Linked DNA regions of Homo sapiens: regions 2, 3, 4, 5 and 6 are each linked to region 1. The links are contacts of gene promoters, found by promoter capture Hi-C in blood cells and fetal thymus (Javierre and others, 2016). All regions are on one chromosome and are shown on one strand. The core of a region is centred on a gene start or on the middle of the fragment in contact, and the rest is flanking DNA. Distances in the headings are between cores, read along the strand shown.

Region 1 (3,479 bases), core at 347-2,846:
ATTCTTGCCCTAAGGGAGGGAACTTGGACTTCTGAGCTAATGAGGAGATAAAATACTGAGTGATCTGTGGAGACCTGGAGAGACTCTCAGTTAAGGAATAGGGCATTTTCTTATGTCCTTACCTAAAAGTGGGGGACATGGGGGTGAGAAAGCTTCCCTTAGACTATGTGCAAGAACTTGATAGCCTTATGCAAAGCCATCTTCAGTGAAAGGCCACAGCTTTGTCACCATGTCAGTCACAGGCCAGTGTTGTGGAAGCAGGCTACAAGTGGCAGCCATCTGAGACTGGAAGAAAAGCCCAGGGGCGGAGCTCTACCCTAACTCCAGTGTAGGGCTTAGAGAGGAAAAGGACACTGCCCCCAGGTGCTTGTGGAGCAGCAGGGAAAGTCAGAGGAGTGATCTGACTTTTTTTTTCATCCTATTAACTTTTGGGAGAATTAACCATAAGGCTGTAAAGTGAATTAATTGCTTCAGAAAAGAACATGAGCAGTGGTGCCAAACACTAATTTTACTTTTTAAAACCATCTCTAAAAATAAGGGTCTTTTGGGAGAGCCTGTTGTTGACTGTTTTCCTGTTGTTTTTATTGCTTTGCGTCTAGGAAATTACAAACAATGATTCTTTGCAATGGTAAATCACCTGGGGAGCTTTTAAAACAATAGTGATGCCTGGCTCCCCAACACTCCACCCTACTCTAAATTCAATTAAATCAAAATCTCTAGGGCTGGTGTCCAGGCATTAGTTTTTTTGTTGTTGTTTTTGAGACAGGGTCTCGCTCTGGTGCTCAGGCTGGAGTGCAGGGCATGATCATGGCTCACAGCAACCTCGACCTCCTGGAATCCCACTTCAGCCTCCCGAGTATCTGGGACTACAGGCACACGCCATCAAGCCTGGCTAGTTTTTGTATTTTTAGTAGAGATGGGGTTTCACCATGTTGGCCAGGCTGGTCTGGAACTCCTGACCTCAAGTGATCCGCCCACCTCGGTCTCCCAAGTGTTGGGATTACAGGCGTGAGCCGCCTCGCCCGTCCTAGTTCTTTTTTTTTTTTTTTAAAGCTTCCCGGCTTATTCTATGTGCCGTCAGAGTTGAGAACTACCGTTCTAGAGCATTATACTGATACATTAAAACGTGGCTACAAATATGTTTTTAGAAACAATTAGTGCGACTTTTGCGCATGCCCACATCCTTTACAGCCTGTGTGGCTGGGCCCACTAATGACATTTATCCAGTCCCCCAAACTTGCACTGTCCTTCCACAATCAGTGGGAGAAACAATCCTAACGTCCCTTTCTCTCACTTGAAATGAACTGCTAGCTGGCTCGGACGGAGAGGCCCAGAGTCCAGGGCTGTTCTGTGTGGGACTCTAGACTCGGAGGAGGCGCCCAGGCCCCTAGAAGGCGGCGCCGGATGAGGCAATCGCGGACCCGGGTCAGGACCTGCCCACGGCTCTGCTGGGACTAGGAGCCCAGAACCAGTCCCTCGGCGCCGCAGGCGGCCAAACGCTAAGGACTACATTTCCCACAATGCACCCCGGGGGCGGGCCGAGTCGGGCTGAGCGGCTGGAGCTGGGCCTTGGCCGCGAGAGGCCGGCGAAAGCTATCTTCCTGCACCGGCGGCCGGGTGAGGGCGGTGGGAGGGAGCGGTGCCTGCGCTGTGGCCATGTCTGTGTACGCAGGGGGCCGGGGCCCCGCGAAGCTGTGCCCTCAGGCCGGCCCCGGCCGGACACCCTTACCCCTCCATGGGTCCGGCAGAGGGCAGTGACCGGCACCTTCTGTGCGTCCTGGACTCCTCTGAGAAACAGGTGAGTTGACTGCCAGCCCACGTGGCCTGGAGGCACCTAGAGACTGGAGAGCTGTCATCTTTGGAGGGAGGGGCTTGAAGACGGGGGCCTCCAGCCATCAACGCTATCGTTTGCAATGGGAAGACTGTGTCTCCCTGCGGTCCCTCAGCCGGCTAGTCCCCAGCTGGGGAATACAAAAGGCGAGATCTGGAACCCATCCTTTGGCTGGGAGGGCGAGATCCGGTAGGGGGCAGTGGCCAGGTAGGACTCTCCCCACTCCCCCACCCCCGCCCCGCCAACAAACGTACACATATTCGGCCGGTAGAGTCTTCTCAAAAAGCAACAGAGGTAACTGGGATGAGCGGGGCAGCACCTGGAAGGGGCTTGGGTCTTTGCTTTGTTGTTTTTAGACGGAGTTTCACTCTTGTTGCCCAGTCTGGAGTGCAGTGGTGTGATCTCAGCTCTCTGCAACCTCCGCCTCCCAGGTTCAAGCGATTCTCCTGCCTCAGCCTCCCGAGTAGCTGGGATTACAGGCATGCGCCACCACGCCCAGCTAATTTTTTGTATTTTTGTATTTTTTTAGTAGAGACGGGGTTTCACCATGTTGGCCAGGCTCGTCTTGAACTCCTGACCTCAGGTGATCTGCCTGCCTCAGCTTCCCAAAGTGCTGGGATTACAGGCATGAGCCACTGCGCCTGGCCGGACTTTGCACCAGTTTGCCTGGTGCAACTGGGTTGTCCCTTGTACTGGGTGAGCCACCCTTTCTGGGCACAAGTTTGCAGAGGGAGAGTGAGCACCCTTTGTCAGGGAGGGAAGTAACCGCCAGAAGTGACAAGGACCAGACTGTGATCTCAGCATGGAGTAGGCATCCTGCTGAAGCAGCCATAGCACAGCCTCACCTGGGCCTTGTCTGCCACACATCCTGTATCCTGGCACCTCCTTTCCAGACAGGCCGCTCCAAAGGGTTAAGGTGAAATGAAGTGCTATCCAAGCAAGAAGAGGGAGCAGGAGTGGTAGGGAGTCAGTAGGGAGGGGCTTCTGAAGGCCTTCTCTGCTCCAAGGCTGCCTGAGTGAGAGAGGCACACTACAAGGGCTGATTGAGCCAACTTGTTTGGTGACATTGCTCACAGGCATAGCAGGGCACTTCTAGGAAAAGCAAGGCCTGGGGCTTCTAGAGGGGTTGTCTGAGAAGGGTTCCCTGAGAAGGGGCATCTGGGGCTGGTTCTAAGAGACCTCCTTTGCCTAACTTCTTCAATTCTAGCCTCCCAGGAGCTTCAGTTGCACAGTTGTGGCTCCAATGGGGGTTGGGGTGGATTTTGCTGTGATTCACTCAGCCTCCCTGTCTGAGTTTCCAGAGTAAGTATTCAGAGAGCTGTTTGCTTCATCAGGCCTCTGGCTGGACCCCAGACTGACCTAGGAGATGCTGAGATACTGTATGATCTCAGGTGGCAGGAGAACTATTGTGAAGGAAGCATCCACTAGCTCTGGCCAGCTGATCTGGCCCCCGCCAACCCTTCCCCATGCAGGTACCGTGCTGGGTACCACTCAGCCACACTGGGCTTAGTCAGCTAAAGCCCACAAGGGATCAGTGGAGAGTGGGCCCTGAGGACAGAATAAGTAAGCTATTGTAGACCTTGTTTGGGTCTTTGAACCAAAAGTGCAACGTCACAGAGCAGTGGCATGTGGCAGACCAAGGAGTTTT
Region 2 (3,694 bases), core at 1,101-3,600, 130 kb before region 1:
CTGCTCATTTCCCAGATGAAAGCAACATGGCCAGAGCTTGGCTTTGCTCCTTGTTCATTAAGAATAAACAAGAAAGATTCCTTTAGAAGTGACTCTAGCAACAGAATGTGAGGAGAAGGAAGAGAAAGGAAAATAAACATAGAAAATAGTAAAAGGTTACAAATTACAAAGAGGAAGAGATAAATACCTCCAAATTACTGTAACTCATGGAGGGAAGAAAAGATGACTTTCATTAAGACTCTAGCAAAGAGGATTTAGGAAGTAAACTAAAAGCAACTGCATTAATAGGCACTTGGGTAGACAGATCCAGCTCACATGTAAGGTAAAGGCAAAGCATGGTTAAGACAGATGCCACAATGAGCTGAATTAATAATGCGGAGCAGGAAAAGGGTACCTTATAAGAACTGTTAAATAATGATGCATAATCATTGGTCTATGATCACTCAAAATAAATAAATAATGCATGGTCACTATTGTTATATACCTGCATTCAATCAGAATCACTGGTGATTAGGTTGAGACTACTGCTTGAAGGCATCTAAAAAATGGGCACCAATATTAGCATCATTCACTCTGAACAGGCAGAAACTATAAAAAAATGACCACGCATGCACTCCATATCTAAGAGATTCTTGTGTGATGCCAAAAGGCAGGAAAGATTGAGGCTGAGAAAACGGGTTTCCTTGGTGATTTAGAGAACTGACAAGAACAAGATGATAAAAAGGGCTAGGCATCTCGTCTGGTAAGAATGGCACAGGGCAGAGAGAAAGAGTCCAGATAACTGCCTCTGGTTCTCCAGTAATACCCCCATTAGCAGACAGAAAACTTTATCTCATGCTTGTACTCAAAAGAAATGGGAATCCTTATTCGGGAGACATAGTGAGGTAAAAGACCAACACCAGAGGAAGGCATCAGCCTTTGCGCTTCCTCTTCTACTCGGAACCATCCCCAGCCCCAGCCCTAGGTCCAGGGGATCAATGTTGGTCTTACTGGAGGGGGACTCTCTTCCTTCTTCACAGTAGGAGGCAGGGGCTTCTTAAAGACGTCTTCTGCAGGGGCCTTCCCTTCACTGGCATTTTCCTGAAACTGATCAAACCAGAGGTAACTCTCACATGATATTCACTCATAATAACTGATAAAGGCTGGGCTGGGTGCGGTGGCTCACGCCTATAATCCCAGCACTCTGGGAGGTCAAGGCAGGTGGATCACAACGTCAGGAGATCGAGACCACCCTGGCTAATGCAGTGAAACTCCATCTCTACTAAAAATACAAAAAATTAGCTGGGCGTGGTGGCGGGCACCTGTAGTCCCAGTTAGTAGGGAGGCTGAGGCAGGAGAATGAACCCGAGAGGCGGAGCTTGCAGTGAGCCAAGATTGTGCCACTGTGCTCCAGCCTGGCCAACATGGTGAAACCCCGTCTCTAGTAAAAATACAAAAATTAGCTGGGTGTGGTGGTTTTGGCCTGTAATCCCAGCTACTTGGGAGGCTGAGGTAGAAGAACTGCTGGAACCTGGGAGGCAGAGGTTGCAGTGAGCCGAGATCGTGCCACTCCATTCCAGCCTGGGTGACAGAGAGAGACTCTGTCTCAAAAAATAAAATAAAATAAAATAAAACGTTAGTATATATTGCATGATTACTGTATGTCAGACCAGATGAGGCATGTATATATAAACATTGTCTTCTTCAGACTTTACTATGATCCTCCTATGTAAGCTTTACTATCTTAATTTTACAAATGATTGGGAATATAGTTTGACAGATTAAGTGGCTGAAGCAGAGTCCAAATATTAAATCAGTATGACTCTAAGTTTTTAAACACACACACACACTCTCTCTCCTCTTTTCTGTATCTCTAAACAACTAACAGTGTTAGAAGGGGAAAAAAAGGCTGGGCGCAGTGGCTCATGCCTGTAATCCCAGCACTTTGGTAGGCTGAGGTGGGCGGATCACAAGGTCAGGAGTTCGAGACCAGCTTGACCAACATGGTGAAACCGCGTCTCTACTAAAAATACAAAAATTAGCTGGGCGTTGTGGCAGCGCCTGATATCCCAGCTACTCAGGAGGCTGAGGCAGGAGAATCCCTTGAGCCTGGAAGGCGGAGGTTGCAGTGAGCCGAGATAGATCACGCCACTGCACTCCAGCCTGGGCGACAGAGCGGCTCCGTCTCAAAAGAAAAAAAAGGGAAAAAAAGGTGTTATGAATTGAATCACAAGCAAATTCATCCATTTTCACTAATGCATAACTGATATCAAGGTAGGTGTGATCTTGGCTCACTGCAACCTCTGCCTCTCAGGTTCAAGAGATTCTCCTGCCTCAGCCTCCTGAGTAGCTGGGACTACAGGCTTGCGCCACCACGTCCAGCTAATTTTTGTCTTTTTAGTAGAGATGGGGGTTTCACCATATTGGCTAGGCGGTCTCAAACTCCTGACCTAAAGTAATCCGCCTGCCTTGGCCTCTCAAAGTGCTGGGATTACAGGCATGAGCCACCATGCCCGGCAGATTTTCTTTTTTTTTTTTTTTTGAGACAAGTCTGGCTCTGTTGTCCATGCTGGAGTGCAGTGGCGCAATCACAGCTCACTGCAATCTCCTGGGCTCAAGCGATCCTCTTAACTCAGTCTCCCAAGTAGCTTGGACTACAGGCATGCATCACCACAGTAGGCTAATTTTTTTTGTATTTTTGGTAGAGATGGAGTTTCACCATGTTGCTGGTGTCAAACTCCTAAACTCAGGCATCCACCTGTCTTGGCCTCCCAACGTGCTGGGATTACAGGTGTGAGCCACTGCACCCTGCCTAATAATTTGATTTTGTATTAGATGTAAAAATGTTCATCATCTCTGATTCTGAAAATGTGTCATAGGGAGTAATTTAAAAGAAGAAACAAAATGCTAAATGTTATATATTATGACAGTATAAGATTAGAAAGAGGCGAGCAAGGTGGGTCTTGCCTGTAACTGAAGCACTTTGGGAGACTGAGACAGGAAGCTTACTTGAGGCCAGAAGTTCGAGATCAGCCTGGTCAATCTAGCAAGATCCTGTCTCTACAAAAAAGCAAAAATTAGCTGGTCATGGTGGCTCATGCCTGTAGTCCCCGCTACTTGGGAGGCTGAGGTGGGAGGACTGCTTAAGCCCATGGGTTTGACGTAGAAGTGAGCTATGATCATGCCACTGCACTCCAACCTGGGAGACAGAGGAAGACTTTGTCTCAGAAAAAAAAAAAAAAAAAGGAAAAAGAAAAGATTAGAAAGAGAAGACAAATAATGTAGGAGAGATGAAGAAAATGAAGGTACAGTTATACCGTGAATTTTTACCATGTGGGCATTAAAAATAATAGAGTATATAGAAACATGGAAAAAATACTTAGGATAAAAAGTGACTAAACAGTATCTCCTGCTATAATTACAACTAGAGAAATGTGTATAAAGTCAAACACTAAAAAAGGAATGTAGAAAAGTGAAAATGTATGGAGCTGAGGTGTTGGGATTTGAGCTGGGCCACTTTGTTCTACCATCCATAGTTTTCCCATTTGTAAAAGAGAGAGTTGGGATATAAGAGGTGAGGGAATTGCCTACACCAGGTAAAAATACTCATTAACAGAGGTTTTTTTTTTTTTTTTGATACAGAGTCTTGCTCTGTTGCCAGGCTGGAGTGTAGTGGCGCGATCTCGGCTCACTGCAACCTCTGCCTCCAGGGTTC
Region 3 (3,729 bases), core at 164-2,663, 160 kb after region 1:
AGACCAGGAGATGGAGGCTGCAGTGAATCATGATCGTGCCACTGCACTTTAGCCTGGGTAACAGAGTAAGACCCTGTCTCAAAAAAGAGAACGCTCTAGAATATAAGAAGACAATATATGTATATATAGCCTTCTATATATATATATTTTATATATTATATAGTCTTCCTATATATTATATATATAAAATATATTAAGTTAAAAAGGAAGACTATATAACATATATATTACATATATATGTGTTACACACACACACACATATATATATATATATATTTTTTTTTTTAAGGGAAAGGGTCTTGTTTTGTCACCCAGGCTGGAGTACAGTGGTGCAATTATAGCTCACTGCCACCTTGAACCCACCTTGGGCTCAAGGGATCTTCCCACCTCAGCTTCCCAAGTAGCTGGGACTACAGGTGTGCACTGCTGCACCCAGCTAATTAAAAAAATTTTCTGTAGAGGTCTTGCCATGTTGCCCAGGTTGGTCTCAAACTCTTGGGCTCAAGCGATCCTCCCTCTTTGGCCTCGCAAAGTGTTGGGATTACAGGTGTGAGCCACCACGCCTGGCCACTCTTGAGTAAGGTTTCTTTCACACAGTGTAGTGTTTTAATTTATACATGCTGTTGTCTGTATCAGTAGTTTATTTTTATTGCTATATAGTATTTCATTGCATTAACACTACAGTTTGTTTATTCTGTTGATAGATATTTGGGCTGTTTCCAGTGTTTGCCTTATGAGTAAAGCTTTTATGAACTTTTTTGCAAAGGTTTTTTGTGTGGACATACACATTCATTTCTCTTGAAGAGACTAGAATTGCTGGGTCATAGGATAGATGTATGTTTAGCTTTATAGGAAACTATAATACCTTTTCCAAAATGGTTGTACCATTTTTACACTCTCACCAGTAATGTATGAGAGTTGTGGTTGTTCCACATTTAGCAACATTAAGTGTGTTGTAGTGTGTTTTTAATTTTAGCCATTTGGGTGAAAGTATAGTGGTAACTCATTGTGGTTTTAATTTTCACTTACCTGAATGCTAATGATATTGAGCACCTTTTCCTGTACTTAATGGTCTTTGTGTATCTTCGTTTGTGAAGTATGTATTCAAATCTGTTGCCCATTTTTTTTTAAAATTGGCTTTTTTATTTTTTAAAGAAATGTATCTTTTAGAGATAGGGCCTCCCTATGTTGCCCAAGCTGGACTTGAACTTCTGGGCTCAAAGGATCCTTCTGCCTCATCCTCTCAAGTAGCTGGGACTATAGGTGTTCACCACTGTGCCTGGCAGGGTTTTTTTTTTTTTTTTTTTTTTTTGTTACTGAGTTTTAGGAAGTTTTTTTGTATTCTGGATACTATATTTTTTGTTTTTTGTTTTGTTTTTTTAGAGACAGGGTCTTGCTCTGTTGCCCAGGCTGGAGTGTAGTAGCGTGATCATAACTTAGTGTACCCTCTAACTCCTGGGCTTAAACGACCCTCCTGCCTCAGCCTCCCTAGTAGCTAGGACTACATGTGCATACTACCATGCCCAGCTTATTTTCTTTTTAAAAATTTTTTGTAGCAACGGAGGTCTCAGCATATTTGCCCAGGCTGATCCTGAACTCCTGACCTCAAGCATTCCTCTTGCCTGGGCCTCACAAGATGCTAGGAATACGGGTGTGATCAAGACTCCATCTCATAAATAAATAATCAGAGGTTTTCAATTTTGATGAAGTCCGATTTATCAATAATTTCTGTTATGGTTATTGCTTTCTGTGTTCTGTCTGAGTGTCTGAGGACACCTTGCCTACCTCTTAAGTGTTGGACATTTCTAGCAAGGCTTGAAGTCAGGTAGTGTAAATCATATAACTTTATTTTTTTTGAGACAGGGTCTGGTTCTGTCACCCAGGCTGGAGTGCAGTGGCATGATCTCCGCTCACTACACCCTCCACTTCCTGGGCTCAAGCCATTCTCCCACTTCAGCCTCCCGCGTAGCTAAGACTACAGGTGAGCTCTGCACACCTTGGCCTCCCAAAGTGCTGGTATTATAGGTATGAGCCACCATGCCCAGCCTAACTTTATTTTTTGTGTTTTCACCTACAAGCTTTCTAGTTTTAGCTTTTACATTTTGGTCTCTGAGTCATCCTAAGTTAATTTTTGTTATTGTGTGAGATTGGGGCTGGTGTTTCTTTTTCCCCCACATAGATAACTGATTGTTCCATTACTAGCAACATTTGTTGAAAAGACTTGTGTATTATCTATTGCTCTGTAACAAATTATTCCAAAACTTAGCAGTTTAAAACAGCAAACAGTTATTACCTCAGTTTCTGAGGGCTAGGAATTCAGAAGTGGCCCAGGCTAGAGTGAAGTGGTGATCACAGCTTACTGCAGCCCTGGCCTCCTGGGCTTGAGTGATCCTCCCAACTCAGCCTCTCAAGCTGGAACTACAGGCATGCACCACCATGCAGGGCTAGTTTTTTCTATGTTTTGTAGAGATGTTGCCCAGGCTGGTTTTGAACTCCTGGGCTCAAGTGATCTTTCCCTGTTGGCCTCCCAAAGTGTTGGGATTATAGGCCTGAGCCACCATGCTTGGCTTAGAGGATCTGTTTTCAAGATGACTTATTCATAAAGCTCTTTGCAGGAAGCCTCAGTTCCATATTGTTTATCTCTACCCAGGGCTTTTGTTTGTTTGTTTTTAAATTTTCCCTACTTTAAAGCTAACAAGTTATACACAGGGCTCTTTGAGTTTCCTCATGGCGTGCAGTTATCTCCTACAGAAATGATCTAAGACAAAGTAAGGAAGAAACCATGAAGCCTCTTATGACCTAGTCATACACTGTCACTTCTGCCATATTCTTTTCATTAGAATGAGTCCCTAAGTCTAGCCTGTACTCAAGGAGAGAGGAGGATTTCACTTTTTAGAGGGAAGAATGTAAAAAAATTTGACATAGTTTAAAACTACCAAAATTTTCTCTCCCCATTGGTTTGCTTTGGTACTTTTGTCGAAAAACAATTGACTGTTATATCCTGATTTGTCGCTGGCAAAAATCCCAAAAACAATTGACTCTGTAGATATGGGCCTGTTTGTGAAATCTGTGTTCTGTTCCATTGATCTATTTGTTTATCCATATGCCAGTACCCCACTACTGTAGCTTTATAGGAAGTCTTGACATGAGGCAGTGTAAATAACCCAACTTTATTGTTTATCAAGATTTATTTGAATATTACAGTTTCTTTTTATTACCATATAAATTTTAGAATTAGCTTGTCAATTTCTGTAAAAAAGTCTCCTGCCATTATGGTTGAGATTCCACTGAATTTATAGATTCATTTGGGGAGAATTGACATCTTAACTATATTGAGCCTTCTAATCCATGTGCTGTGTGAGGCATATTTCTTGATTTATGCCTTCTTTACTATCTTGCTACATTATTTCATTGTTTTTAATGTAGAATTCTTTCACGTTTTGTTAAATTTGACCCAAGACATTTGATTTTTTTGATGCTATTGTAAATGAAATTTTTAAATTGTAGTAAATATACATGAGAAAATGTAGAATTTTAACTATTTTGAAGGGTATGATGCAGTGGCATTAAATACATTCACAATGATGTTTTGAGAACTACTTTCATCATCCCAAATAGGAACTCTCCCCATTATATAGTAACACCCCATTCTCACCTCCCCCAGCCCCTTGTACGTTCTTAATAATCTTTTTGTCTCAATGAATTCGCCTATTTTATTTTATTTTATTT
Region 4 (3,548 bases), core at 76-2,575, 130 kb after region 1:
TTCGGCAGTGCATAGGTCACTGGGAACCCTGACAAGGGCAGTTTTGTGTAGAGAGGGACAAGCCTGATTAGAGTGTGTGGAGAAGAGAGTGAGGACTGAAGAACTGGAGATGGCAAATAAAGACAACCGTTTTTGTTTTTTTTTTTGAGACAGGGCCTCACTCTGTCACCCAGGCTGGAGTGCAGTGGCATGATCTTGGCTCACTGCAGCCTCCATCTCTGGGGCTCAAGTGACCCTCCTATCTCAGCCTCTCAAGTAACTGGGACTACAGGCATGTGCCACCACACTCAGCTAATTTTTTTTTTTTTTTTTTTTGTAGAGACAGGGTTTCACCATGTTGTCCAGGCTGGTCTCGAACTCCTGATCTCAAACGATCCTCCTGCCTCAGCCTCCCATACAGGCATAAGCCACCGTGCCTGGCCAGAAAACTTAAAAAAACTGACATATAAATACAATAAATAGACAGATCTCAAAGTTACAGCCCAGTAAATGTTAAAATCTGTAGACACTTGTGCAGCTGCCACCCAGATATAGAACATCCTCAGCAACTCCTGGATGCCACCTGGTGCCCTATCCAACTGATATTCCCAACGGTAACCAGTATTTGTATTTCTATCATAAAGGATTCCTTTTGCTTGTTGGATGTAGACAACTTTTTTTTTCTTTTTTCTTTTTTTTTGAGACAGGGTCTTGCTCTGTCACTCAGGTTGGAGTACAGTGGCACAATCATGACTCACTGCAGCCTCGATCTCTTGGGGTTCAAGCAATCCTCCTACCTCAGCCTCCAGAGTAGCTGGGACTACAGGCCTGGATCACCACACCCAACTAATTTTTTGTAGAGATGGGGTCTCACTTTGTTGCCCAGGCTGATATTGAACTCCTGAGCTCAAGTGATCCTCCCACCTCAGCCTCCCAAAGTGCTGGGATTACAGATGTAAGCCGCCACACCCAGCAAGTTTTGAGAGATTTTGTTGACGGTTGGGCTCATTTTTTATAGGCAGATAATGTTCTAATGGAGGGGGTCCAGCTGGAGTTGAGACTCTGTGGGGTAGCAGGTCCTGGGCCAAATTTTCCTGGGTGCTGTGCTTGCTCTATCTCCACGGATTGCATGACCAGTTTCCTCATCTGAACCTTAATCCTCCTCCCCTTCCATGCCCTTAGAGTTGTAATGAATGGGGGCAATGGAAAATGGGATATTCTGAGCCTCTGGAAGCCTGCCAGAGGTCTAGAACTCAGTCACCAGGGATGGGTGGGGATAGAATCTGGGAGGCCCAGGAGTCCCGCCTGCCCAGCTATGTTTGAGCAACTGACCTGGCAACAGGGTGAGTCAGACAAACAGCCTAGCTTTCTGAAGCCTCCTCTGCTGTCTGTGTCTTCAGGTCATCATGGTGCTGCTCAGGCTCCTCGTGTTCCTCTTTGCTCCGGTGGTCTCTGGTGAGGAGGTGGTGGGTGGGGGAACCGTAGTTTTCCCTTGGAGTCCTGACCCTTCCCAGATAAGCTACCATGGAGGACAGGGATTGGGGGAGAGGTAGGAAAGTGTAAGAATCTGAACCCCTGGCCCTCACCCCTTCTCTTGGCCACTTCCTCAGTCAAGTTCTCACTCCCCATCTGTGAAATGCTGGATGCTGGATACAAGGAAAGGCCTTAGCTGCTTGGCCCCATGGCATGGCCAGGCCCTGTGGCAAAAGGACAGGACTATGCTAGTATGTGTGGTTCCATCAGCCTGGGGGCCTCCAGCCTGAATTCTCTGCTCTTCACAGACCTCTGCAGCCTGCCCTGCTTTATAAATGTCTCTGAGAGCCAGGGCCCTGGCACAGTCCTTCAGTTTTTATCCTTCAACTGCTCCTCCTACACGCCCACACCCACCCTGGAGTTGCTCAATGTCCAGCCACCCACCACCTTCTTCAACCCACCCAGCTTGGCCAGGTGGCAAGGGACCTATGTGGGCAAGGTAGGGTCATGTGTACAGCTGGGGACTGTGGGGGCACAAGGGCAGACCTAAAATTTCCAAGCCCCACATGGCACTGTCCACCCACCCCAGTTGACCTTGAGCAGCTCTGCTCAGTTGGATGCCCTGATGGTGAACCACTACAAGGTGCAGCTGAAGTTCACATGTGGCAACCATGTGATGGAGGGCTCACTCTCTGTGGATGTGCAGCGGGACCTTAGCCATATCCAGTGTGCTGGTCAATTTGCCAGCCCAGGTGAGGCCAGGGGCAGCCGGCAGGGTGGGGGCAGGCATGGCCTGAGCAGATCCTCCCTGACCTCCACTCTGGCCAGCTGGGGAAATGATTCAGGTGCCAGAGACAGTCACACCTGGGGCTCGGCTGTACACTCTGCTCCTCCCAGGCCTAGAACTCCACGGAGCGCAGGTAAGCCCAGAACATGGGACGGTGGGTGACAGGATGGGGGTGGGGGGATGGAGAGAATAAATTAACCCCCACCTGGCCAGGCACAGCCTGAAGAGGAACCTTGCAGCAGAGGCATAGATGAGCCTCTACATGATGTATGTTCTTGGAGAGAGCTGCTGAGGGCTGCTCACTCCCCAGTGACCATGGCTGTTCCCACAGGGACATCTCAGGGGCTGAGTTCTTTTTTTTTTTTTTTTTTGAGACGGAGTCTTGCTCTGTCGTCCAGGCTGGAGTGCAGTGGCGCGATCTCGGCTCACTGCAAGCTCCACCTCCCAGGTTCATGCCATTCTCCTGCCTCAGCCTCCCGAGTAGCTGGGACTACAGGCACCCGCCACCACGCCCGGCTAATTTTTTTGTATTTTGTAGTGGAGACAGGGTTTCACCGTGTTAGCCAGGATGGTCTCGATCTCCTGACCTCGTGATCTCCCCACCTCGGCCTCCCAAAGTGCTGGGATTACAGGCATGAGCCACCGCTCCCAGCCAGGGGCTGAGTTCTTTCAAGATCTGCTATGTGTTCTCAGTTCTTTATGACAATTCTGTATCATTTCTGTAATCAAAAAAAAAAAAAAAACAAACATGTAGGTAATGGCCAGGCACGGTGGCTCACACCTGTAATCCCAGCACTTTGAGGGGGCTGAGGCAGGTGGCCTCAGGAGTTCGAGACTAGCCTGGCCATCATGGTGAGACTCTGTCTTTACTAAAAATACAAAAATTAGCCAGGTGTGGTGGCGTGTGCCTGTAATCCCAGCTACTTGGGAAGCTGAGGCAGGAGCATCGCTTGAACCCAGGAGGTGGAGGTTGCAGTGAGCCAAGATTGTGCCACTGCTCCAGGCTGGGTGACAGAACAAGACTCTGTCTCAAAAAAAAAAAAAAAAAAAGTATTTAAAAACAGTAACTGGCTTGAAAGCAAAAAGGATTGAGGACTGCGGCCAGGGCTTGGGCTAGAAGTCAGGGAGCCCAGGCTGGGATAAGGGTCAGTGGTGAAGCATGAGAAAACTGGGTGTCAGGCTGGGCACAGTGGCTCACACCTGTAATCCCGCATTTTGGGAGGCCGAGGCGGGTGGATCACTGGAGGTCAGGAGTTCGTGACCAGCCTGGCCAACATGGCGAAACCCTATCTCTACTACAAATACCAAA
Region 5 (3,472 bases), core at 184-2,683, 230 kb after region 1:
CTCTCGCTGTGCCCTCAGCCCTGCACCGGGGCAGCTTGTGCTCATCCCTGAAGGCAGCTCCGGCAGCACCTGCACGCCCCATCCACACCTCACCAAGATCCCTGGTCCCCTGCCAGGCACGCCCGACCCCTATGGCGTGGGTGCTGGCGGGAAAGAGAAGCTGCCCAGATGTAGGGCAGGCAGATCAGTGTCTCCCTGCCTGAGTGGGTGGAAAGACTTGGGCACCCTCTGGTGGCCATAGGATGGCTCAGCATCCACAGCAGAGCAGGCTCAGGGACAGTCCCCCACCTGGCCCCAGAACTGCTCCCGGCCCACAGGCCTGTACACACCTTTGAGGGTCTTCCGCAGGTGCGAGAGGAGGCCCCCCAGGCGCTGCAGGTCAAAGTAGTCCACCTTGCCATTATAGAAGACCTGGGGCGGGATGTAGGCCTCTGCGAGGAATTGAGGAGGCTAGGCCAGTGGTCACGGCCCAGTAGGAAGACCCTCCCCACAGCCCTCCCCTCCAATCTGGCCTAGCACAGCCTGGGAATTCTGGCTTTGGCCACTCACCCATCCAGGCAGACAGAGAAACTGTCTCCTGGACCAAGAAACAGACCTCCCCTACCTCTTCTCCACCCCTGCCATTTCAGGTCAGAGCCAGCAGCTGCATAACTTGGGGTGATGGGGGTACTCATGGCAGCCGTTCACTCAGGAGAAGCAGAGAGGCCCAGCCCCAGTCCTGTGGGATATCCCCCAATCCAGGGCAGGTAAGGCTCCCACTGACCCTTGGGGACTCAAACACAGGGCCCCCCAGCACCCACCCAAGGCAGCCCTATAAAGGACGCACAGAGAAATGGGGGGGCAAGGACGGAAGAAAAGAGCCCACAATGGTAGGAGCCCGTGGGACAATCAGAGCAAACACAGGATCGGCAGGCCTGCGGTGCAGGGCTCCTGCTGCCCCAGTGGAGAAGCCGCCTGTGGCTGGGTAGGACTCAACCAGGCAGGATGCCGGGGACAACTCCCCACAGCCCACAGCCTCAGCTCAGCACTCTGCACTAACATTAGGGGCTGCCCTACGCCTGGCTCTGTCCAGCCTCACTGACCTGGGACCCCGGTGCCACTCACCCTCACTGAAGGAAGCATGAGGATTGGAAGCCTTGTATTCATCCCAATAGTAGCGCAGGGCAGAGATCAGCCGGTGTAAGAAGCAGACCATGTACTCAGGGGGGCAGAGCATGGGCATGTTCTGTGGACACCAGGCATGAAACATGCATTGGTGCCAGTCCAGTGCCTTGCCCATTCCTCATCCAAGGCCCTGCCTGAGGGTCGAGGGTTAAGCAGGGAGGGAAAAGCAGCAGAGAAAAGCTTGGGGCTAGGCAGGGATGAGGCAGTCCGAGAAGTGCCAGGTGCTGAGGGCATGGCATGTGTAGTGCAGCCGGGGATCCACAGTGGGCTGGCCTGGAGGACACCTACCCCCCGGCCACTGGCGTTCTCCTGCAGAAACTTGCGAAACTTGGTCAGGAAGATATACCTAGAAGCTTCACCCTTTGAGAGAGGGAAAAGTGAGGCTGTGCTGAGCTGAGAATGCAGGCCCAGACTGGGCTGGCTCAGTGCTGCACCTTCCCCCAGCCCCTGCCATGGGAACCAAACCCAGTTCCCACCCTCTGGGTCTTAAGGCCCAGTGCAGCATCCCTCCCCACAGGGCCCCACCCAGGGCTCCTGGGAGTCACTCACCCCATTGTCATCTTTATTGTCCAGCAGCAGCTTCAGGATCTGGACCTGTAGTTCTTCCACCACTGGAGGTCAGGTGAGGAACATGGCCCTCAGGCTCCAGGAGATGGGGGGCAGGTTTGGGCCAGGGCTCCACCACCAGGGTTCCCCAAGTCCCACCTAGACATGGGCACCTCCAAGCACCCTCATGTGCACACACACACCTCCCACCCTACCCCGTGCCCAAGGCGGGCTGACCTTCGATGCGCTTCCTGAGCCGCTGACAGCCCCGTTCGTAGGCTCGCCGCCGCAGCCGCTCCTCTGCGGTCTCCTCCTTCATCTCCGTGCTCTCTTTGCCCTAGGCAGGGGTAGCAGGTGGAATACAGCAGGGTCACCTGGGACCTAGCCAGGCCTCCTTCACTCAGAACACCCACACTCCATCTCCAGGGCTTCAGGGACCAGGGCCAGTGAAAAGGCCTCATGCTAGATGCCCAGTGGCCAGATGCCCAGGCCAGGGGCCTTGCCATGACCTCTGCCCATCCCACTTGGGGTGCACTCACCTCCCTACTGGAGCAGTGGGGCCACCAGGTGGTGGGAATGAGCTCCTGCAGGCCGGCCTCCTCCACACGCAGGGGGCTCTTGATGTAAAAGAAGACGACGGAGCGGAGCACGTCGAAGCTGGCGGGTGTCAAGGCAGGGCTCTGCTTGCCAAAGGGCACTCTGCACACCCTCAAGAGTCCTTCCCCAGGAGCCCATCCCTGGATGTGCCTACCACAGCTCTCCCACCACCACAGGGGCATGTTGCTGCTATGTGTCTGACCCCCAGGGCATGCTCCCTGACAAAAAGCTGTGGTGGTTAAGCCCACCAGCTCCAGTACCCAGCAGGTGCACGATAAGGGCTTGTCACAGGAACAGATGACTGTGGGACAAGCTGGAGAGAGGGACTGGTGGCCTTTTCTCAGGCCCCAACTCTGACCTCTGTGTCTCCCAGCTTTGTGTCTGCCTCCTGGAGGCTGGAAGACCCCAGACCAAGAAAACGGCTACAAGCTGAGGCTTCCCAGCCAGGGGCTCAAAGCTATGCTCTCACTCACTCATGCAGTTCCCAACAATTCTGGGAAGCAGGAAGAGCTGCCTCCTTAAAGATCTTGCAGGAATCCCCACTGTGGAACATGAACAAAAGTGCTGGGCTGTGGCCGAAGAGGGCAGGCCCTGTGGCCCCTCCCACACCTCTGCGTAGCCCGAGTCTGCAGTCATTCAGAACCCCCTGGCTAGGCTGGCTGGCCAGGCTCAGTCCTTTGCTCTCTCGTCCTTGCTCTGTAGAGAAAATGCCACGTTGGGCAGCTCTGGTCCTCCTGATGCTCCCAGGGGACCCCTGGCCTGATGACACTCCCCTTCCTGGCCTCTGCTGAGTCCAGAGGGCACCCCATGTCTGGCCTGCCAGGCAGCAAGGAAAGGATACAGGACATTGCTAAGCAGAAACTTGCGGGACTTCTCATGCCTCAGGATGGCGATAGTGAGCCGCAGGTAATGGATCTGTGGAGAGGGGGCGTTCAGAGTGGACAGGCGAGTCCCAGGGGGCTCAGGGCAGGGGTAGGGGCTCCCACCTGTAGGCCCAGGTCTGGGACAATGGGTGAGAATCGGTACAGCCGAAGCAGAGACATCATCAACTGCTTGAGGCAATCTTGTACCTCGTAGTCCTGGGGGAAGAGATGCCAAGGCAGCCATGACTGGGGCCTTTTCCAAGATTCTCCCCGTATCTTCCCGACCCCAGTGAAGACTGACA
Region 6 (3,817 bases), core at 7-2,506, 200 kb after region 1:
GCTGAAATTGTGCTACTGCACTCCAGCCTGGGCAAAGGAGCAAGACTGCATCCTAAAAAAAAAGAAAAGAAATGTAAATCCAGCTTTTTCTAAAGATTCCTATTTGGGAATGTTAGAATCTGGTTTCCTTGTTTTTGTAGTAGTGCTACCAAGATGTCTTCCTTATTTCTTAGGCCTGGGCAAGGTGCTGGCTTGAGTAGGGCCTTGGTTCACTGATGGTGAGGGATGTATCCAAATCTTTAGTTTGCATATTGCCTGCAAGATAGGTCTAAAGATAACATAGGCTGGGTGTGGTGGCCCACATCTGTTATCTCAGCACTTTTGGAGGCCAAGGTGGGAAGATCACTTGAGGCTAGGAGTTCAAGACCAGCCTGGACAACATAGTGAGACCCTGTCTCTAAAAAAAACATTAAAAATTAGGTAGGCGGCTGGGCGCGGTGGCTCATGCCTGTAATCCTAGCACTTTGGGAGGCCGAGGTGGGCAGATCACCTGGAGTCAAGAGTTCCAGACCAGTCTGGCCAACATGGTAAAACCCTGCTCTACTCAAAATACAAAAAATTAGCTGGGGGTGGTGGCAGACACCTGTAGTCTCAGCTGCTTGGGAGGCTGAGGCAGGAGAATGGCTTGAACCCAGGAGGCAGAGGTTGCAATGAGCTGAGATTGCACCACTGCACTACAGTCTGGGTGACAGAGCAAGACTCTGTCTCAAAAAAAATAATAATTAAAAGAAAAATTAGGCATGCCTGTAGTCCTAGCTGTTCCAGAGGCTGAGGGTGGGAGGATCTTTTGAGCCCAGGTGGTCAGTGCTGCAGCGAGCTCTGGATCCAGCCACTGCACTCCAGCCTGGGCAACAGAGTGAGACTCTGTCTCAAAAAAAATAATAAAAAATAAAAATAAATAATAATAATAAGGCTGGGCACAGTAACTCTCGCCTGTAATCCCAGCACTTTGGGAGGCCAAGGCAGGCAGATCACTTGAGGTCGGGGGAGTTCAAGACCAACCTGACCAACATGGAGAAACCCCGTCTCTACTAAAAATACAAAATTAGCCAGGCATGGTGGCACATGCCTGTAATCCCAGCTACCGGGAGGCTGAGGCAGGAGAATCACTTGATACCAGGAGGCGGAGGTTGCGGTGAGCTGAGATAGTGCCATTGCACTCCAGCCTGGGCAACGAGCGAAACTCCGTCTCAAAAAAAAAATAAAATAAAAAATAACAAAAATAAATCAACATAAAAATACCCTAGAGCTTAGGTTAAAAAACCAAAAAACAACAACAAAAAAGTTTGTGATATATACATACAATGGAAAATTATTTAGCCAGAAAAAGGAATGAAATTTTGATACATGCTTACAACATAAATGAATCTTGAATACATTCTGCTAAGTGAAATAAGCCAGACATTTAAAATGACAAATACTGTATAATTCCACTTATGAGATACCCAGGAAAGGTAAATGTATAGAGACAGAAAGTAGACTAGAGGTTCCCAGGGGCTGGGAGGAGGGAAAATGAGGAGTCACTGTTCAGTGCTATTTAATGGGTACAAGCAGGAAAATGGCTTGAACCCCCTGAGACAGAGGTTGCAGTGAGCCGAGATGGCGCCATTGCATTCCAGCCTGGGTGACAGAACGAGACTCCATCTAAAAAAAAAAAAAAAATTAGGCATGCCTGTAGTCCTAGTTGTTCCAGAGGCTGAGGGTGAGAGGATCTCTTTTCATTTTGGGAAGATGAAAAAGTTCTAGCTGGGCGTGGTGGCTCACACCTGTAATCCCAGCACTTTGGGAGGCTGAGGCAGGCGAATCACAAGGTCAGGAGTTCGAGACCAGCCTGGCCAACATGGTGAATCCCTGTCTCTACTAAAAATACAAAAAATGAGCCGGGTGTAGTGGCGGGCACCTGTAATCTCAGCTACTCAGGCAGCCGAGGCAGGAGAATAGCTTGAACCTGGGATGCAGAGGTTGCAGTTAGCCGAGATCACTCCAGGGCACTCCAGCCTGGGTAACAGAGCGAGACTCCGTTTCAAAAAAAAAGAAAAGTTCTAGAGATAGATGGTTGTGAGTAGAGATAGATGGTTGTGATGGTTATACAACAAAGTAAATGTACTTCATGCCACTGAATTGTACACTTAAAAATGGCTGAAGTAAATTTTATGTATATTTTACCACAGTTTTTATTGGTTAAGTAATAAGCCAGTGGTGTGAAACCCATATTTGAGAGTTTGAGACAAGTACATACTGCATTAGGTAAAAGCCCCCTTTTATAGAAAAACTGGGTTGTGCTTTCCTGGCTGGGGCTGATGGTGAGTGTGGTTGTCATTCTCCTTGACCGTGGCCCAGAGTTCCTCCTGCTTGAGAACGTGGTGCACCACTTCAAGTACCCCTGCGTGTTGGACCTGAAGATGGGCACGCGGCAGCATGGCGATGACGCGTCAGCTGAGAAGGCAGCCCGGCAGATGCGGAAATGCGAGCAGAGCACATCAGCCACGCTGGGCGTCAGGGTCTGCGGCATGCAGGTGAGTTACCTCTGCTCAGAGCCTAGGTGCTGCCACTTGCATGATTTGGGTTGTGCTCATACCTGCCTGCCATCTATGCCAAGTGTGTCCTCCTGAGCCCCTCTGTCCTTACCTGTTGACTTTGATATGGGCCTCAGGTGCAGGACCACTGTGAGAGTCTGCTGCCTCGACATTGGGACAAATAAGACTCTTGCCTGTCAACAAGATGTTCCGATGTTGGAGGAGGGCTCCAAAGCTGGGGGCAGGGAACCCATAGGCCTGGTATTGCTTTCTCTTGGTTCTGCAATGGGAAAACCCAGGGTGAATGTGGCCTGCCTGGTTCCACTTAGATAGGTGAGCAGAAAAGCTCAGGTTGGTCAAAGTCCCTTCCAGACAGTGTTTGCCCAGGGCACTGTGAGCTCTTCAGACTTCCCTGGCACTCACCCTGTCTGCCTCCTGGGGTTTCAGGTGTACCAGCTGGACACAGGGCATTACCTCTGCAGGAACAAGTACTATGGCCGTGGGCTCTCCATTGAAGGCTTCCGCAATGCCCTCTATCAATATCTGCACAATGGCCTGGACCTGCGACGTGACCTGTTTGAGCCTATCCTGAGCAAACTGCGGGGCCTGAAAGCTGTGCTGGAGCGGCAGGCCTCTTACCGCTTCTACTCCAGTTCCCTGCTTGTCATCTATGATGGCAAGGAGTGCCGGGCTGAGTCCTGCCTGGACCGCCGGTCTGAGATGCGTCTCAAGCACCTGGACATGGTGCTCCCTGAGGTGGCGTCATCCTGTGGCCCCAGCACCAGCCCCAGCAACACCAGCCCCGAGGCGGGTCCCTCCTCTCAGCCCAAGGTGGATGTCCGCATGATTGACTTTGCACACAGCACATTCAAGGGCTTCCGGGATGACCCCACCGTGCATGATGGGCCAGACAGAGGCTACGTGTTTGGCCTGGAGAACCTCATCAGCATCATGGAACAGATGCGGGACGAGAACCAGTAGGCCCTGTTCTGGGCCCCCAGAACCCCTTCCTCTCCACTGCAGGCAGGGACCATTGTTCTGAACTTGCCGTGAGGACACACAGACTTGCTTTTAAAGGGTTATATTTCTCTTTGGTGTAAACTAAAAGAAATGTTTTTAGCTGTAGCCTGGAATCCATATATATAAAGTGAAGGAGGGCAGACCACACGCCCTCTCAGCCAGGCTCCTCAGCTTTGTGGCTCTGACTGGTGTGTCCAGGCTGCCTTAGGAAGGAAGAGGTGCCCCTGGTGGGCTTGGCAGCAGGGACAGGGTGCCCTTGGACATTGGTTTCTCTTGTCTAG

Evidence for each region. The method cuts DNA at HindIII sites, captures the fragments that hold promoters and counts their contacts. A CHiCAGO score of 5 or more calls a contact.
Region 2: a fragment that was not itself captured here is called in contact with the fragment with the promoter of MON1A in region 1 in 1 of 17 cell types (endothelial precursors); the score reaches 7.1 in endothelial precursors.
Region 3: a contact is called between a fragment that was not itself captured here and the fragment with the promoter of MON1A in region 1, in 1 of 17 cell types (endothelial precursors). The highest score is 5.1, in endothelial precursors.
Region 4: the fragment with the promoter of CDHR4 here is called in contact with the fragment with the promoter of MON1A in region 1 in 1 of 17 cell types (endothelial precursors); the score reaches 5.5 in endothelial precursors.
Region 5: a fragment that was not itself captured here is called in contact with the fragment with the promoter of MON1A in region 1 in 4 of 17 cell types (endothelial precursors, megakaryocytes, fetal thymus and 1 more); the score reaches 10.1 in endothelial precursors.
Region 6: a fragment that was not itself captured here is called in contact with the fragment with the promoter of MON1A in region 1 in 1 of 17 cell types (endothelial precursors); the score reaches 5.1 in endothelial precursors.

The regions. Positions count from the first base shown.
Region 1 is chr3:49,927,928-49,931,406 of GRCh38, reverse strand. MON1A (MON1 vesicular trafficking associated A) reads left to right here and starts at 1,596. Exons shown (of 6, transcript NM_032355.4): 1 at 1,596-1,798. RefSeq lists a silencer at 1,540-1,889. The HindIII fragment of the contact is 4,855 bases long and covers 1,056-3,479 here.
Region 2 is chr3:50,062,423-50,066,116 of GRCh38, reverse strand. RBM6 (RNA binding motif protein 6) reads right to left here. Exons shown (of 21, transcript NM_005777.3): 16 at 991-1,086. Among named protein-coding and RNA genes, the nearest start is that of RBM5, 25 kb to the left of the region's middle. The HindIII fragment of the contact is 1,270 bases long and covers 1,716-2,985 here.
Region 3 is chr3:49,768,772-49,772,500 of GRCh38, reverse strand. All of the region lies in intron 1 of IP6K1 (inositol hexakisphosphate kinase 1), which reads left to right. Among named protein-coding and RNA genes, the nearest start is that of IP6K1, 16 kb to the left of the region's middle. The HindIII fragment of the contact is 1,335 bases long and covers 746-2,080 here.
Region 4 is chr3:49,797,650-49,801,197 of GRCh38, reverse strand. It overlaps CDHR4 (cadherin related family member 4), which reads left to right and starts at 1,325. Exons shown (of 19, transcript NM_001007540.4): 1 at 1,325-1,434; 2 at 1,761-1,951; 3 at 2,042-2,204; 4 at 2,281-2,372. The coding sequence starts at 1,386. The HindIII fragment of the contact is 36,577 bases long and covers 1-3,548 here.
Region 5 is chr3:49,700,386-49,703,857 of GRCh38, reverse strand. RNF123 (ring finger protein 123) reads right to left here. Exons shown (of 39, transcript NM_022064.5): 14 at 3,294-3,386; 15 at 3,149-3,222; 16 at 2,250-2,367; 17 at 1,948-2,047; 18 at 1,714-1,775; 19 at 1,453-1,524; 20 at 1,105-1,225; 21 at 330-431. Among named protein-coding and RNA genes, the nearest start is that of RNF123, 13 kb to the right of the region's middle. RefSeq lists a silencer at 8-302. The HindIII fragment of the contact is 173 bases long and covers 1,347-1,519 here.
Region 6 is chr3:49,726,802-49,730,618 of GRCh38, reverse strand. It overlaps IP6K1 (inositol hexakisphosphate kinase 1), which reads left to right. Exons shown (of 6, transcript NM_153273.4): 5 at 2,341-2,516; 6 at 2,964-3,817. The coding sequence ends at 3,497. Among named protein-coding and RNA genes, the nearest start is that of GMPPB, 4.8 kb to the right of the region's middle. The HindIII fragment of the contact is 6,459 bases long and covers 1-3,817 here.